Linked DNA regions of Homo sapiens: region 1 is linked to region 2. The links are contacts of gene promoters, found by promoter capture Hi-C in blood cells and fetal thymus (Javierre and others, 2016). All regions are on one chromosome and are shown on one strand. The core of a region is centred on a gene start or on the middle of the fragment in contact, and the rest is flanking DNA. Distances in the headings are between cores, read along the strand shown.

Region 1 (7,453 bases), core at 3,623-6,122, 260 kb after region 2:
AGAGCACTAACGAGGAGGCTGAAGTACACGGGAAATTTCCAGAGCGTGGCACAACACCTGGGGGCACATGCTGCTGGAAAATGGCACCTGCAGACGTGCTCGCCAGGTTGCTCCGAGCCTCCTCCCTGTGAACACAGTATCAGTGAAGCACCATAAAATGAGGTGTGCCTGTAAAACTCACTCAATGCCCAACTTCAAAGGCACAATAAAAGCAGGAAACAGCCACAGCAACTCATGAAGGTATATGTGTGCAGAATGTATTTTCATAAAGTCCTTACATCCTTCAAAATACCTAGTTTGTCAGAAAATAGGCATTAAAAAAAAAACCTTGGGCGGGCGCGGTGGCTCATGCCTGTAATCCCAGCACTTTGGGAGGCCGAGGCAGGCGGATCACAAAGTCAGGAGATTGAGACCATCCTGGCTAACACGGTGAAACCCCGTCTCTACTAAAAAAAATACAAAAAATTAGCCAGGTGTGGTGGCGGGCACCTGTAGTCCCAGCTACTTGGGAGTCTGAGGGAGGAGAATGGCGTGAACTCGGGAGGTAGAGCTTGCAGTGAGCCAAGATCCTGCCACTGCACTCCAGCCTGGGTGACAGAGTGAGGCTCTGTCTCAAAAACAAACAAACAAAAAACCTTAGTGAGTAGAGTAGCGGGTATGAACGAAGCAATCTGAAAATATCTAGTCACAGTTTATACTGCACAGAAGAATAGACTGCTGTGTAAGATGCCACGAGACACACAAATGACTAACACAGCCAGAAATAGAAGCTGTTTTGTGGGTTAGACCTGAATTCCGGCCCTAAACAAACTCCTGTGCAGCACGGCAGTTACTCGATTCTCTCCATTCTGCAAACAGCATAAAACGCGAGAGTTTGTGCCACCTGGGGGGTCTGTGCAGCTCACCCTGACCACCTGACTGACTTACAAGGCCAAACTTAACCAAACTTCTTCCAGATGAAGCTTGTCACAAATTTGACTTATGTGTAACTGTCATCAATCTGTCCCAGCTGTTGGTACCACGCCCCGGCATTCAGCAGCGGAGGATGCCCGGCTCCGTGGTGCATCCTCCAGCCTGCTGGGTGTCTGCTATTGGGACCTGCAGGATCCCCAGGAACCTTTAGAACTGGTAAGGTCAGAACTGATGGGCCTCTGAAATCCCAAATCTAACGCCAGAGTCCACATACTGTTCAATAGCAAACACTTAAAAAACAACTCAGTGTTGGTGAGGGCCTCCCTGATGGCCACCGTCTAGGCCGACACAAGCCTCTGCGCAAGCCTCTGGGCACAGACATTCAAAGCCTTCGGTCTAGAAATTCAGCTTCTCTGGTTCCATCCTGAGGACACAGCTGAGGCACAGGAAGGGTTTCGTGTGCATTAAACAGGGTTCTGCCCTCACCCTGCATTTCCCCGTGTTTCCCCTGGAGAATGTACGCTGGTCACCTCCCACCCAGGCTTTTCCTCCAGCCCAGTTCTCCCAAGCACAAACCCAGGCGTCCACCTGCCCTTGACATCCTAGCAACATAAAGGCATCCAACACCAACGTCCTCCCCACCAAGACTGCCCCTCTCAGGACACGCCTCGCACCATCCACCACACCATCCTCACAGGCTCGGGACGTTTCTGCCTTCTCCGACATCGTGCCGGGCAGGCACACAAAGGGTTCCCACACACACGGAAGGAAGCGTGAGACACAGTGGGCGTCGGGATGTCTGCCCGGGAGCCGCGGATGCTCCCCAACAGCCCAGCAGACACACGGCCCACGCCCAGAACTAGCAAGTCTGCTTTCCAAACCCAGGCTGACCTACGGGAAATCATCTAAAAAACAAGAGAACACACTTCTGAATCAAAATTCTAGGACCCGCGGTTCCTGGGAAACTGTCCGTAGATGCTGACTGCACTCACTTTATTCGACATCTGCTGACAGTGCTGCTCGGTTGTGTGAATCAACGTCTGGTCCAAGTCCACCATGAGCACCAGCTTCCGGTTTCGGTGCAGTCGCTGCTGGTCTTCTCTTCCCAGCTGTTCAGCTTGCTACAATTAAAAAGAAACAAGAAATGACAAAGTCAGTATGTTTGCATCCAAGGTAAAACTCCATTTCATCGAGAAACACAAAACTATATCAATGTGTTCCCCTCCAGCCCCCCACGCTCCATGGACTGCGCCGTACAGGCCGAGAGGCAGGGCTGGGTCACCAACCTGGTCACGGCAACCTCGCTTGTGACCACAATTTTATAATTCAGTTAAATACATGAGCCAATGAAAACGGAGGGGGAAGGGAAACTGGTTGTTTCTATAAAAGCTGGATTCAACAGTATGGAGTGCTCAATAAAAGTGAACTGCAAAATTAATGAAGAAACCAAGTCGGCCGGCTGGGAGACGCTGGGTGGCCCAAGCTGGGCAGCAGAGACTGGTAAGGGCAATGCGCTCAGAATCTCCCGCGCTCAGAACCTTCCACGCTCAGCCTATTCTTGTGCCTCGAAGAGACCCGGGGGCCTGGCAACAGCGCATCGGGGTGTCCCTCCACGCGGGGCCCAGAGTGGAGCTCCTAACAAGGGCCCGGTCACCCCGGCATCAGGAGCCCGGCATGGGACACGGGATGTGACGCACCACGCTGCCTTTCTCACTGTAACTGGCCCTCACTCTTCACAACAAAATCCTGGTCCCGCTCAGGGGGGACCTCCTCCCGTGCCCATCCCCGAAGGGAAACGCACGGAAGGGCTGGCAGGTGCCAGAAAGATGGGGGGTACTTCCTCCTCCCTTCACCCTCAAACTTGCCAGCTTTGGTTTACGCATACACATTTTACATTTGTTTAAAGTTTGGTAATTCAGAAAACCCAGAATCCTGTATCTGGCATTTTGCTTTTCCCATAAAAAGATAGACTGAAATTGGTGTCCATCATTTAAAAGCACGAATTTACTAAAATCGTAACACTGGAAAGTGTTTTACCTATTTACAAAACTGTGCAGCCCTGAAAGTCTGTAAGATCACAAACTAGTTTTTCTCAGCTCCCAGAGCATTTTCACCCACGGGGTGAAGCGAGGTCGGGGAGACGGTGTCTGCCTCAAGCACAGGAGGTGCCCGGAGCCGCTGACCCACAGTGCCCCAGCAACTCCTGAAATACATAAACGAGGCGTAGCACTCGAAGATAAAAACCCATCTCACTCTTAACTGGGCACGTGAACACCTGCCCGTCCTCTCCACCCTGCGTACCCCCCATGGGCTCTCCTGTCGGCTACAAGGCAAACACTCCTGGGACCCCCAACCCGCCCCTGCATGTGCCCACTCTCCCGAGCCAGCTTCCCAATGGTGCCAGCAGCAGCCGCTCCTGTAGCCAACAAGGTGCTACCAACCACGTCCCCCCGCCCCTACCCCCGGCCACCGACTCCTCGCCATTATCTGCCCCAATATGCGCTTTGCCCTCCCGGGTCATCCAGCACATGCCTCGGCAGCGCGGCCACCTCCTGAGCTCCATGAGCAGCTGTCACATCCCTCCCCAGTTAGGACTTGGCTCAAGGGAACCCAGGCTGAGCCTGGCTGTTCACAGCTGCGGCGGCAGCACCTGGTGTTCCCGACACGCAGGTCACACAGCCTCGGGGCCCTGAGTCGCTTTTGCAGGCAGACTTGTCTGTGGAGAACCAAGGGCAACCGTCCCTGCTTCAGGAAGGCCGCAGTCCCATAAGTCATCCGTGTGATGAGGGGTTGTTTCAGTAACGACGATGACAACCACACGTCCGTGCTTCTGCAGCCACCCTCCTCCTGCAGCCGCCCTCCTCAGAGCACCACGCTTCCCCAACACGCCGCCACTGATGCCCGGCTCACCTCGGAGCTCACCATCAACTCCGGCACGCTGTGCACCATGGACACGGTCGCCGTGGACAGCGGCACCTGCTGCTTCCCGTTCTTACTCTGCAACCTGCAAGTGCAAGGACAGGTTCAGGGCTTTCAGCTGAGTCTCTGCGCACAGATGCACACTGGGCTCTAAGTGACAGGATTCTAGCTGATGTTTTAACGGACACACGCTGCTATCTTAGCACAGACTTGATTCTGTCGGCAAACGTGGAAACATTCTCCACAGACAGGAAAACTGGTGGAAACACTGAGCTCGTGGCCACACTCATGAACACACAGAGCCATAGTCCTTCATGAAAACAAACTGCAAAGTCACACAGAAGCAGAAACAGGCCCTCAACCATGAAAACGCAGAAAAAGTAGCTGCCGCACCTCCCACTTGGCATTAGAGGTAAAGCAGCCCCCAGCATGGGGCGCTCAGCGGCCCAGAGGGAGGGGCTGCTCCAGGCACTCAGCGATCTGCGTCTTCAGTCAGGAGAAAACAGGTCTCGGCCCTCCAGCATGCCCCCCCACCACACCTGAGAATGGCATGAGGCTGGGGTCACAGAGCAGGAAGGACTGCCTCCAGGGAAACCCATTGAGTGTGACTCGTATGGGGCCCAAGGGAGGCGTCTGCATCTGCCGCTGGGAAACCAAGGGCCTCACTGTGTTCCCAGCACAGCTTCTCGGACTCCCCGGAGGCCACCACCTCGAGCCCCAGCAGGCAGCGATCTCACTCTTCCGGATACTTACTGGGTGAGGTCTTGGCCACATTCAGCACACAGGCCTTTCATGACAACCGGGTGGCTGCATCCTTCCAACCTCACCAGAACCGCTCTACAAAAAAACACAAGGGGAACAACACTTTAAAATCTCTTGGTTTATCAAAAGAGCCCCCAAGTAAGAATTTTAAAATCTAGGTTTTTGTACCAATTCTACACTAACCCTTGCATAACTTTGTAGGCAGGTGACATCACCCCTTGAGGGCATTTCTTTGTCTATAAAATGAAAGGACTTTCCACCTACAGGTGTCTCTCATGAAAAATGACACGCCACCACACCTCACCACCCCCGTGCCACCCGTGGAACAGCTGAAAAAACTAAGGATGTCTGGTCCAAAGAGGAGACTTGGGGATAACATAAAGTTGTCTCAAAACACACTATTTATATGTGATCCTCTGACATTTCCGTTAGAGAATTTATAAAATCTAAAACTTTCATATCATTCCCAGTCTAGACAGAGGCTGATGCAACTACATTTTCCTGACAAAATGACTGTAATGTTCGTTTTATATAAACACAAACTGTTTTATTTGTCCAAACAGTGGTCTTCTGGCAGAAGCCATGGAAGAAGTGCTGAAATCTGAAGGCTATGAGACCAGAGGCCGCCTGGCACTCAGCGCCCGCCCCTAGGTGCCCTCAGCCCCCACACTCCCACCCCAGCCGGGCTGCTCCGACCGCCCCACCCTGCGAACATGAGACCACCCAGCACTCAGCGCCTGACCCTAGGTGTCCGCAGCCCCCACACTCCCACCCCAGCCGGGCTGCTCCGACCACCCCACCCCGTGGACATGAGACCGCCCAGCACTCAGCGCCCACCCCTAGGTGCCTGTAGCCCCCACACTCCCATCCCAGCCGGGCTGCTCCGACCACCGCGCCCCGCGGACACGAGGCTGCCCGGCACTCAGTGTCCCTAGGAGCTCGCAACCCCCACACTCCCGTCCCAGCTGGGCTGCTCCGACCACCCCACCCCGTGGACATGAGACCGCCCAGCACTCAGCGCCCACCCCTAGGTGCCTGTAGCCCCCACACTCCCATCCCAGCCGGGCTGCTCCGACCACCCTGCCCTGCAGACATGAGGCCGCCCAGCACTCAGCACCCGCCCCTAGGTGCTCACAGCCCCCACACTCCCGTCCCAGCCGGGCTGCTCCGACCACCCTGACCCGCGGACATGAGACAGCCACCCAAGCTGCATCTGTCAATGGGACCTTTCCAGGCGGGATGCCCCATGGCCCACCAAGACCCCCAGCCATGTCATCGAGAGGGCGCAAGGATCAGGCCACAGGCGGAAACAAGGCGGAGCCACATCCTCCATGCCCACTGTGCCATGGCAGGCTGTGCTGGGAGACTGGGAGGGGCGGGTCTGCAGCCTGCATCCTGCAGGGGAGCGGAGGGGCGGGTCTGTAGCCTGCATCCTTCAGGGAGACTCGGAGGGGCGGGTCTGTAGCCAGCATCCTGCAGGGAGAATGGGAGGGGCGGGTCTGTAGCCTGGAGGGGAGTGGAGGGGAGTTCTTCCTGGGGAGGAGGATGGGCGTGTGCGGATCACCCTGGAGGAGGAACGGTGCTGAGGACACACGGTGCGGGGCTCCGAGCCCTCGGGGATGGAGTGGGCTGCCGGTGACTATCAAGAATCTGAGCTCCTCCGGGTCCTGGGCCTGTGCGTACACAGTGCATGTGCAACACAAATGGATTCCGCGTTTACTCACGTCCCATCCCCAAGACATCTCGTCATGTATACGTGCAAATATTCCAAAATCCAAAAAAACCCAGAAATCCAAAACACTTCTGTTTCCAAGCAGTTTGGATATGGGAGACTCAACCTGTATCAGGTTTTTTTCTTAAACCAGACAACAAAATAGTGACACCTTGTTTGAAAAAGTGTGTTAAACTTTCTAAGGTGACAAGTATGATTTCCTTAATTTTATCAAAATACTTTACAATGAATGATTAGAGTTCTGCCCTAAAATGCCCCAATGAGCAGAGACTTAACCTAAAAACCCAATCTCTGAAAAAAAACAAAAACAAAAACAAAAAAAACGCACAAACCCCACACTGGACCATCCTCCCTCCCGGTCACCACACCTGCTCAAAGACACTGCCAGGCTTCACAGGCCTCAGGGACACCTGCTCCCTGCTTGCTGAGGCCACAGGGGCCATCCCCGCCCAGGAGTCTGTGTCCCTACCGCCATCGCACTCGGGGCCTCCACATCCAGGCTCCTCTCCGATGCCTGGCAGCCCCCAACTCCCCGGCTGAGCTGTTTTCGTCCATCCACAGGGCTCTGCGGCCCCACCGCCAACACCCAAACCCAGTCCTCCCAATGGCCCCACGTCCTTTCCCTGGGCACTGCTCCCCCAGTCCTGGCAGCAACCCCACTTGGGAGCCCCAGCCCCTCTAACAGGCTTCCCTGGTCTCCAGCTGACATCATTTTGCAATCAGCCTTCTGCAAGGAAACTCTGCACAGCTCCTGCCCCACACAGGACACCAGCTCATGGCAGGCTCCTCATTCTACCCCCTGCCCCACACAGGACACCAGCTCACGGCGGGTTCCTTGCTCTACCCTCTGCCCCACGCAGGACACCAGCTCACGGCGGGCTCCTCGCTCTACCCCCTGCCCCATGCAAGACACCAGCTCACCGCGGGCTCCTCCTTGCTCTACCCCCTGCAAGGGGAAGAGAGGGAAAGGAATCCTCAAATATGAACTAGGAGGATTTTGCCAATCTCTCCTAAACATGTTAACATGAAGAAGGATCTGGGGTGGCTCTAGTTTAACCAATAAACAGGTGTTTTTTTGTAGAAATTGACAAGTTGCTTCTGAAATTTATATGGAAGTTCAGAAAACCT
Region 2 (6,640 bases), core at 3,603-6,102:
GCCGGGACCAGCCATGGTCAGTGGTCTCTTACCAGGAGAGTTACTGAAATCTGTCTCTTGTCTTGTCAGAGGTGTAGCTGTGGCTGGTGGACGAGGGTTCAGTCAGGCAGGTTTATTCAGTTTGAATGTGACAAGCCTAGGTGTGGTTTTTTGTTTTGTTTTGCTTTATGTTTTTTGTTATTTGTCCTGATGGATGTTCTGTATGTTTCCTGGATCTATGGTTTGGTGTCTGTCATTAATTTGGGGACATTCTTGCCATTCCACCATTTCTCCTGCCCCTTCTCCTCTTTCCTCCTTCCGATTCTCCCATTGTACCAATCATATCCTTTGATGTTGTTCTTGGATGGTGTTTTCTGTTGGTGTATTAGGCTGTTCTTGCATTGCTATAAAGAAATACCTGAGACAGAGTAATTTATAAAGAGAAGAGATTTAATTGGCTCACAGTTCTTGCAGGCCATACCAGCATGGCACCAGCATCTGCTCAGCTTCTTGGGGGCCTCAGGGAACTTTTACTCATGGCGGAAGGCAAAGTGGGAGCAGGCATTTCACACGGTAAAAGCAGGAGCAAGAGAGAGAGAGAGTGAGGGTGTGGGTAGGTGCCAGACACTTTAAAGAAAAACAGATCTCAGGCGGGCGCGGTGGCTCATGCCTATAATCGCAGCACTTTGGGAGGCCGAGGTGGGTGGATCAAGAGGTCAGGAGTTTGAGACCAGCCTGGTCAACATGGTGAAACCCCATCTCTACTAAAAATACAATAAATTAGCCAGGCATAGTGGCACAAGCCTGTAATCCCAGCTACTCGGGAGACTGAGGCACAAGAATCACTTAAACCCAGGAGGTTGCAGTAAGCTGAGACTGTGCTGTGCCACTGCACTCCAGTCTGGGCAACAGAACGAGACTCCGTCTCAAAACAAAAACAAAAACAAAAACAGATCTCACATGAACTCAGAGTGAGAGCTTACTCATCACAAGGGGATGAAGCGATGGTGCAAGCCATTCATGAGGAACCCGCCCCCATGATCCAAACACCCCCTGCCAAGCCCCACCTCCAAAACTGGTGATTATAACTCAACATGAGATTTGGTGGGGACACACACTCAAACTAGATCAGTTGATTTTTTTTTTTTTCATCACCTTTTCTCCTTGAATTTCAGTTTGGGAAGTTTCTGTTGACTTATCTTCATATTCACTGATTCTTTCCTTCATTCTGTCTAGTCAACTAATGAGCATTCTTTATTTCTATTGTGTTTTTGACTTCTAGCATTTTTTTTTTATTATTGTTTCCATCTTTCTGCTGATATCACCTATCTGGTCTTGCATGTTGTCTAATTTTTCTGCTAAAGCCAGTTTATCCAGGAGTTTCTGCTCTGGGTGAGCAGCTCTCAGGTGCTGTCTCTCCCTGGATGTGCCTGTCTCTTCAGAGCAGGGTGCCAGTTTGTCTGGCAGCCTTAGTTCTCTGATGGGCCCATGAAAGGCTGCCCTGCTATTCTTTGCTGTAAGGATGGGGGTGGTGACTGCCAAGCACGTCACATGACACCAGTTGAAGTTGCGGAACTTCTGAGCCAGGCTCCTAAAGTGAGACTTCCAATCCACCTTCCGTACAGGTTTCCTTAAAAAATGGGGTGCGCGACCAGCAAGGTGGCTCACTCCTGTAATCCCAGCACTTTGGGAGGCCTAGGTGAGAGGATCCTTTGAAGCCAGGAGTTCAAAGACCAAACTGGCCAACATAGTGAGCTCCCCGTCTCTATAAAATAAATAAATAAAATAAAAAGAAATAGGCTGAGTGAGAAACAGTGGCTCCAATCTTCCTCTGATGTCCCAGCTCTCAGAACAAGGTTGCTTTGTTTGCTTTTCCTTTTATAAGCACCATGTGTTAGGCAAATTCTTAAGTGGTTCCCTGAGGTATTCATGCTCCTACGTGACACCTTAATCTGCACCGGGCCAACCCAGTGACCTGTTTCTCATGAGCAGAGCCTGGAAAGCATGAGGCACAGCTCTGCTTCCTCTGTGTCACAGCTCTGATCTTGTCAGTCACTCATTGGCTCCTGCAACAAATGACCACAGCTAAGTGGCTTTTACAACAGCAGAAGTTTATTCCTTCACAGCTCTGGAGGCCAAAAGTCCAAAATCACTTTTAATGTGCTGAAATCAAGGCATTGGCAGGGCCAGGCTCCCTCGCATGGCTCCTGGGGAGAATCTGCTCCTTGTTTCTGGGGCCTCTGGTGGCTCCGGCGTTACTTGGCTTGGGACTGCATCACGTCAATTTTCAAGGCCCCATCTTCATCTCTGCTCCATCTTCCCATGGCCCTCTCTTCTGTGTGGCACCAAATTTCCTTCTGCCTCCCTCTTACAAAGATGCATGTGGCCGGGCACGCTGGCTCATGCCTGTCATCCCAGCACTTTGAGAGGCCAAGGCAGGAGGATCGCTTGAGGCCAGGAGTTCAAGACCAGCCTGGCCAACACAGAGACCCTGTCTCTGTTGTATGTATTTATTTTTGAGATAGGGTCTCACTTTGTCACCGAGGCTAGAGTGCAGTGGTGCGATCCTGGCTCACTGCTGCCTCAACCTCCTGGCCTCAAGCAATCCTTCCACCTCAGGAGTAGCTGGGACTACAGGTGCACACTACCATGCCCAGATAATTTTTCTATCTTTTGTAGAGACGAGGTCTCACCATGTTGCTCAGGCTGGTCTCGAACTCCTGGGCTCAAGAGATTTACCTGCCTCAGGCTCCCAAAGTGCTGGGATTATAGGCGTGAGCCACAGTGTTTAGGGCCCACCTGGATAATCCAGGACAATCTCTCTATCTCAAGATCCTTAATGACATTAGAAAAAAAAATTGTTTTCCCATACGAGGTAATATTTACAGGTTGCCTGGATTAGGACTTGATGGCTTTATAAGGGCCATTTTCCAGCTGTGCATGGCTTGGTCGGCTTCTCTTGTTTGCAGGAAGCTATGTGACAAGCGCAGCACCTGCAATGAGCTGTGATTGGCTGATGTAGACTGGGGGTGGGGGCTCGGACCCCCGGCAGGTGGTGTTCGAAAAGGTACAAACTCACTCTGCAGTCATCAACTCACCTTTCGGGGTGCCTCTGAGGCGTGAGGCCTGTGGGGTGACGTCCGAGCATGCCAGATTTCGTCCACTGAGCCGGGCTCCTGGAGGCCCCGTGCACAGATGCAGCTCTAGGCCCCAGGCTGCGGGCACAATTTGCCCCATGCCTCCACAGCCTCTGGATTTAAGATAACCGAGGATAGCGTCTGGGACCCCAGTGCTCCCGTGAGGGTCAAGGAGGTCCGGAGCTTACTCCAACCTCCAGGGCAGAGAGGACAGATGATCCCAAAGGCTGCTGGGCTCAGGCTAGGGCGCGGCTGAGCAGGGGCAGCTGCTTTTTCTCTCCCAGGCTTCCTGCTGTGCCTTTTACTCACCTCTACGTTCCTGGTGCTGGGGCTCCGCAGCGCTGGCTCTAAAGAAGTTCCAACGCCAGCCTGGGGGCGCAAGGCAGGAGCGCCCTGTTTCCTCGATTGTTGGGGATTTGCTCCTAGTTAGGTGGTGACTGTCCTTATGATCCCCCATAAAACCAGTCGGGCAGGGGGCAGGGGGCAGGGGGCCGGGATCGTGGAGAAGAGGCCGCGGCTGGCGGGGAAGCAACCCTCAGCGTGGACCCCTCAACCTCGCGGCTCGCCCCTTACCCGTGCACCCCTCGCCTCACACCCCCGCGCCCCTCACCCACGCGTCCCTCACCCTACACACACCCGCCCATCACTCGCGCACCCTTCACCCCTCACCCACGCTCCCCTCACCCTTCACCGGCGCGCCCCTCACCCCTCACCCCTCACCCAGGCGCCCCTCACCCTTCACTCGCGCATCACTCACCCCTCACCCCTCACCCACGCTCCCCTCACCCCTCACCCCTCACCCGCGCTCCCCTCACCCCTCACCCGCGCGCCCCTCACCCCTCACCCGCGCTCCCCTCACACTTCACCCGCGCTCCCCTCACTCTTCACCCGCGCGCCCCTCATCCACGCGCCCCTCGCCCTCAGTCCTCACCCGCGCGGGCCAAGAGGGTCCCGGGCGAGGGCAGCTCCCCGCGGGCGGGTGTGGGGCTCGGAGTTGGCTTGGCACGCGAGGCCGGCAGCAGGGCCCGGGCTTCACGCACGCCTGGCCCCCGAGTCTGTCTTGAGGCTCAGGAGCTGCCTTTTCTGCAAATAGGCGCCCAACGGTTCAGCCCGGAGAACTACACGGGGATGGGGAGAGGCCGCCCCGCGTTTCTGCAGCGACAGCGACCGTGGCCGCAACCACGATAATGACAATGGCCACGGTGACGGCCGCGCGTCCAGCCGGCCCCCCGGCGACGGCCCCGGCGCATCTGCTCGTGGGGCACTTGCATCGGAGCGGAGACCCGCGGGGGGCGCTCCGTTTCCCGAGACCCCGGCCGCCTCTGGGCGCTGCAAACTCCGAGCCGGGTCCCCGGGTCTCCTGGGTCAGGACAGAGCTGGACGAGACTCGTCCCCGGGTGGCCCGCATTCAGGACACGCGTGAGAGGGGCGTCCGGACCCCGCGCCCCCGGCCCTCCAGGACGACGCCCTCCGCTTGGATGGCCGCGCGCCGGGACAGCTGGAGACGGGTTAACGTGGGCGCCAGGCCTGAGGGACCGGCCCCGCCCGGCTGGTATTTCCCGACCGGGCGGGAGGAGCCACGCGCCCCCACCGCCCCGACAGCCCCGGCTCCCGGCCCCGCCTGCGCCCGCCCTGCCCAGCGCGCTCTAGGACACCGCGGCGCCTCCGCGCAGCTCCGGCGTGGGCGGGGCCCGGCATTGTGACGTCACGGGGCGGGGTTTCCCGGCGCCTGAGCGGACTGACGCCGAGACGCGCGCGGGTCAGCGGCGCGGGGACGCGGGGCGCTGGGCGCGGGGCTGGGGGCGCAGGTAAGGAGCGCGGGGGCGGCGCGGGGTCCTCGGGGGGCGGCCTAGGGCGGCCGAGGACGCAGGGCCGGGGCAGTTGGTCGCGGCCTTCAGTCCCCTGGCTTGGTCCTGTGGGGTCCCCGGCCCGGCACCTCCTCCCGCGAGCCGTGCGCCCCCATCCTGGGCCTGCGCCCCCTTCCCCCGAGCCGTGCGCCCCCATGCTAGGCCCTGTGACCCTCCCCCGAACAGTGCGCCCCGATCCTGGGCCCTGCGCCCCCTCCCCCACCCCATCCCGGGGCGCGCGTGGACCCCCGCCGGCTAAGCGCACCCGGGCGGTGACCCCAGGGGCTTCGCCCGTCCTCGACCCCGGCGCTGGGACCCCTCCCCAGCCCCCTCCGGGAGCGTCTCGGGACCCCCAGACACCCCCCCGTCCCAGGCAGGGGCCGCTCCTCGCGCGCCCCGGGCCCCGGTCGCCCCCGCTCTGCCTCGGGTCCTGCGGCTGGCGCGGGTCGGGTCGGGTCCGTGCGCGCCGCCCCAGCCTCCCTGGGCGGAACTCGAGCAGCTCCCCGCTCCCCGCAGGCCCCGAGGCCGCAGGAGCGCGCGGAGCGGCGATGAGCAGGCGGCCGGTGGCCCGCGGGGCGCGGAGCCCGTGACAGCCTCGGCCAGGCGGGCGCTGCGATGGAGGCCGAGGGCCTGGACTGGCTCCTGGTGCCACTGCACCAGCTGGTGTCCTGGGGCGCGGCCGCGGCCATGGTCTTCGGAGGGGTGGTGCCCTACGTCCCGCAGTATCGGGACATTCGCAGGACGCAGAACGCCGACGGCTTCTCCACCTACGTGTGCCTGGTGCTGCTGGTGGCCAACATTTTGCGGATACTCTTCTGGTAAGTTGGGGGCTTGCTTTCCTGGGCTGCACCCGGAGAAGAGGGTTTCTCCTTTGGGGTTTCTGGTTGAGGCCGGGGGAGCAGCAGGGTCCACACCTCCCTGCTGGGCCAGCGTCCCACTCTGCCGTGGATGGGGTACGTGGCTGCAGGCAAGTCACTTCTTAGGGTGAGATTATTTTTCCAGAAAAACGGTGGGGTTGGAGCACAGAATCTCAGAGAAAATCTCCAGATCCGCCTCCTTGCATGATGTTCCACATGGGTACTTAGCAGGGACCTCTCAGCTGGGCACTGGCCTAGGCCTGCCTGTGGAGAGGAGCCGTTCCTGCCCTCCTTTTTCATGTTGTATAGTTTTTCTTTGTTGTTTTGAGAGAGGGTCTTGCTCTGTGGTCCAGGCTGAAGTGCATGATGACATGACAGCTCACCGCAGTCTCCACGTTCCTGGGCTCAGGTGATCCTCCCATCTCAGCCTCCCGAGTAGCTGGGACCACAGGCGCACCACCACACCCGGCTAATTGTTTTTTTTGTATTTTTTGTAGAGACAGGGGAGTGGGGGGTTGTCTCACTTTGTTGCCCAGGCTGGTCTCGAACTCCTGGCCTCAAGCATCCCTCCCCACTGGGCCTCTGAAAGGGCTGGGATTACAAGCTGAGCCACGGCGCCTGGCCTGCCTTATTTAAATAGGAAGTCACTCTCTCTGGAGACTGTCTTGTTCCTCTCCCCAACTTCCTCTTTGTATTTGTATTAGGCTAAGGAAATTGAAATTAATTTTAACAGTTGTTGAAGGCAGACATAATTGGGAGGGTGAGTTTTCAGAGGAAATGAGGTCTCACAGCTGCATTCTAAGGCCAAAAACGTCTGAAA

The links. The method cuts DNA at HindIII sites, captures the fragments that hold promoters and counts their contacts. A CHiCAGO score of 5 or more calls a contact.
Region 1: a fragment that was not itself captured here is called in contact with the fragment with the promoter of SLC66A2 in region 2 in 5 of 17 cell types (neutrophils, monocytes, M1 macrophages and 2 more); the score reaches 12.7 in neutrophils.

Annotation. Positions count from the first base shown.
Region 1 is chr18:79,692,440-79,699,892 of GRCh38, reverse strand. It overlaps CTDP1 (CTD phosphatase subunit 1), which reads right to left. Exons shown (of 13, transcript NM_004715.5): 2 at 4,585-4,668; 3 at 3,823-3,916; 4 at 1,905-2,033. Among named protein-coding and RNA genes, the nearest start is that of CTDP1, 16 kb to the right of the region's middle. RefSeq lists enhancers at 1,089-1,588, 1,589-2,090. The HindIII fragment of the contact is 7,815 bases long and covers 965-7,453 here.
Region 2 is chr18:79,949,865-79,956,504 of GRCh38, reverse strand. It overlaps SLC66A2 (solute carrier family 66 member 2), which reads left to right and starts at 4,852. Exons shown (of 6, transcript NM_025078.5): 1 at 4,852-4,924; 2 at 5,480-5,781. The coding sequence starts at 5,579. LOC124904336 (a long non-coding RNA gene) reads right to left here and starts at 3,696. Exons shown (of 2, transcript XR_007066429.1): 1 at 3,426-3,696; 2 at 409-3,229. RefSeq lists silencers at 4,321-4,370, 4,501-5,010, 5,331-5,410, 5,451-5,570. The HindIII fragment of the contact is 12,677 bases long and covers 1-6,640 here.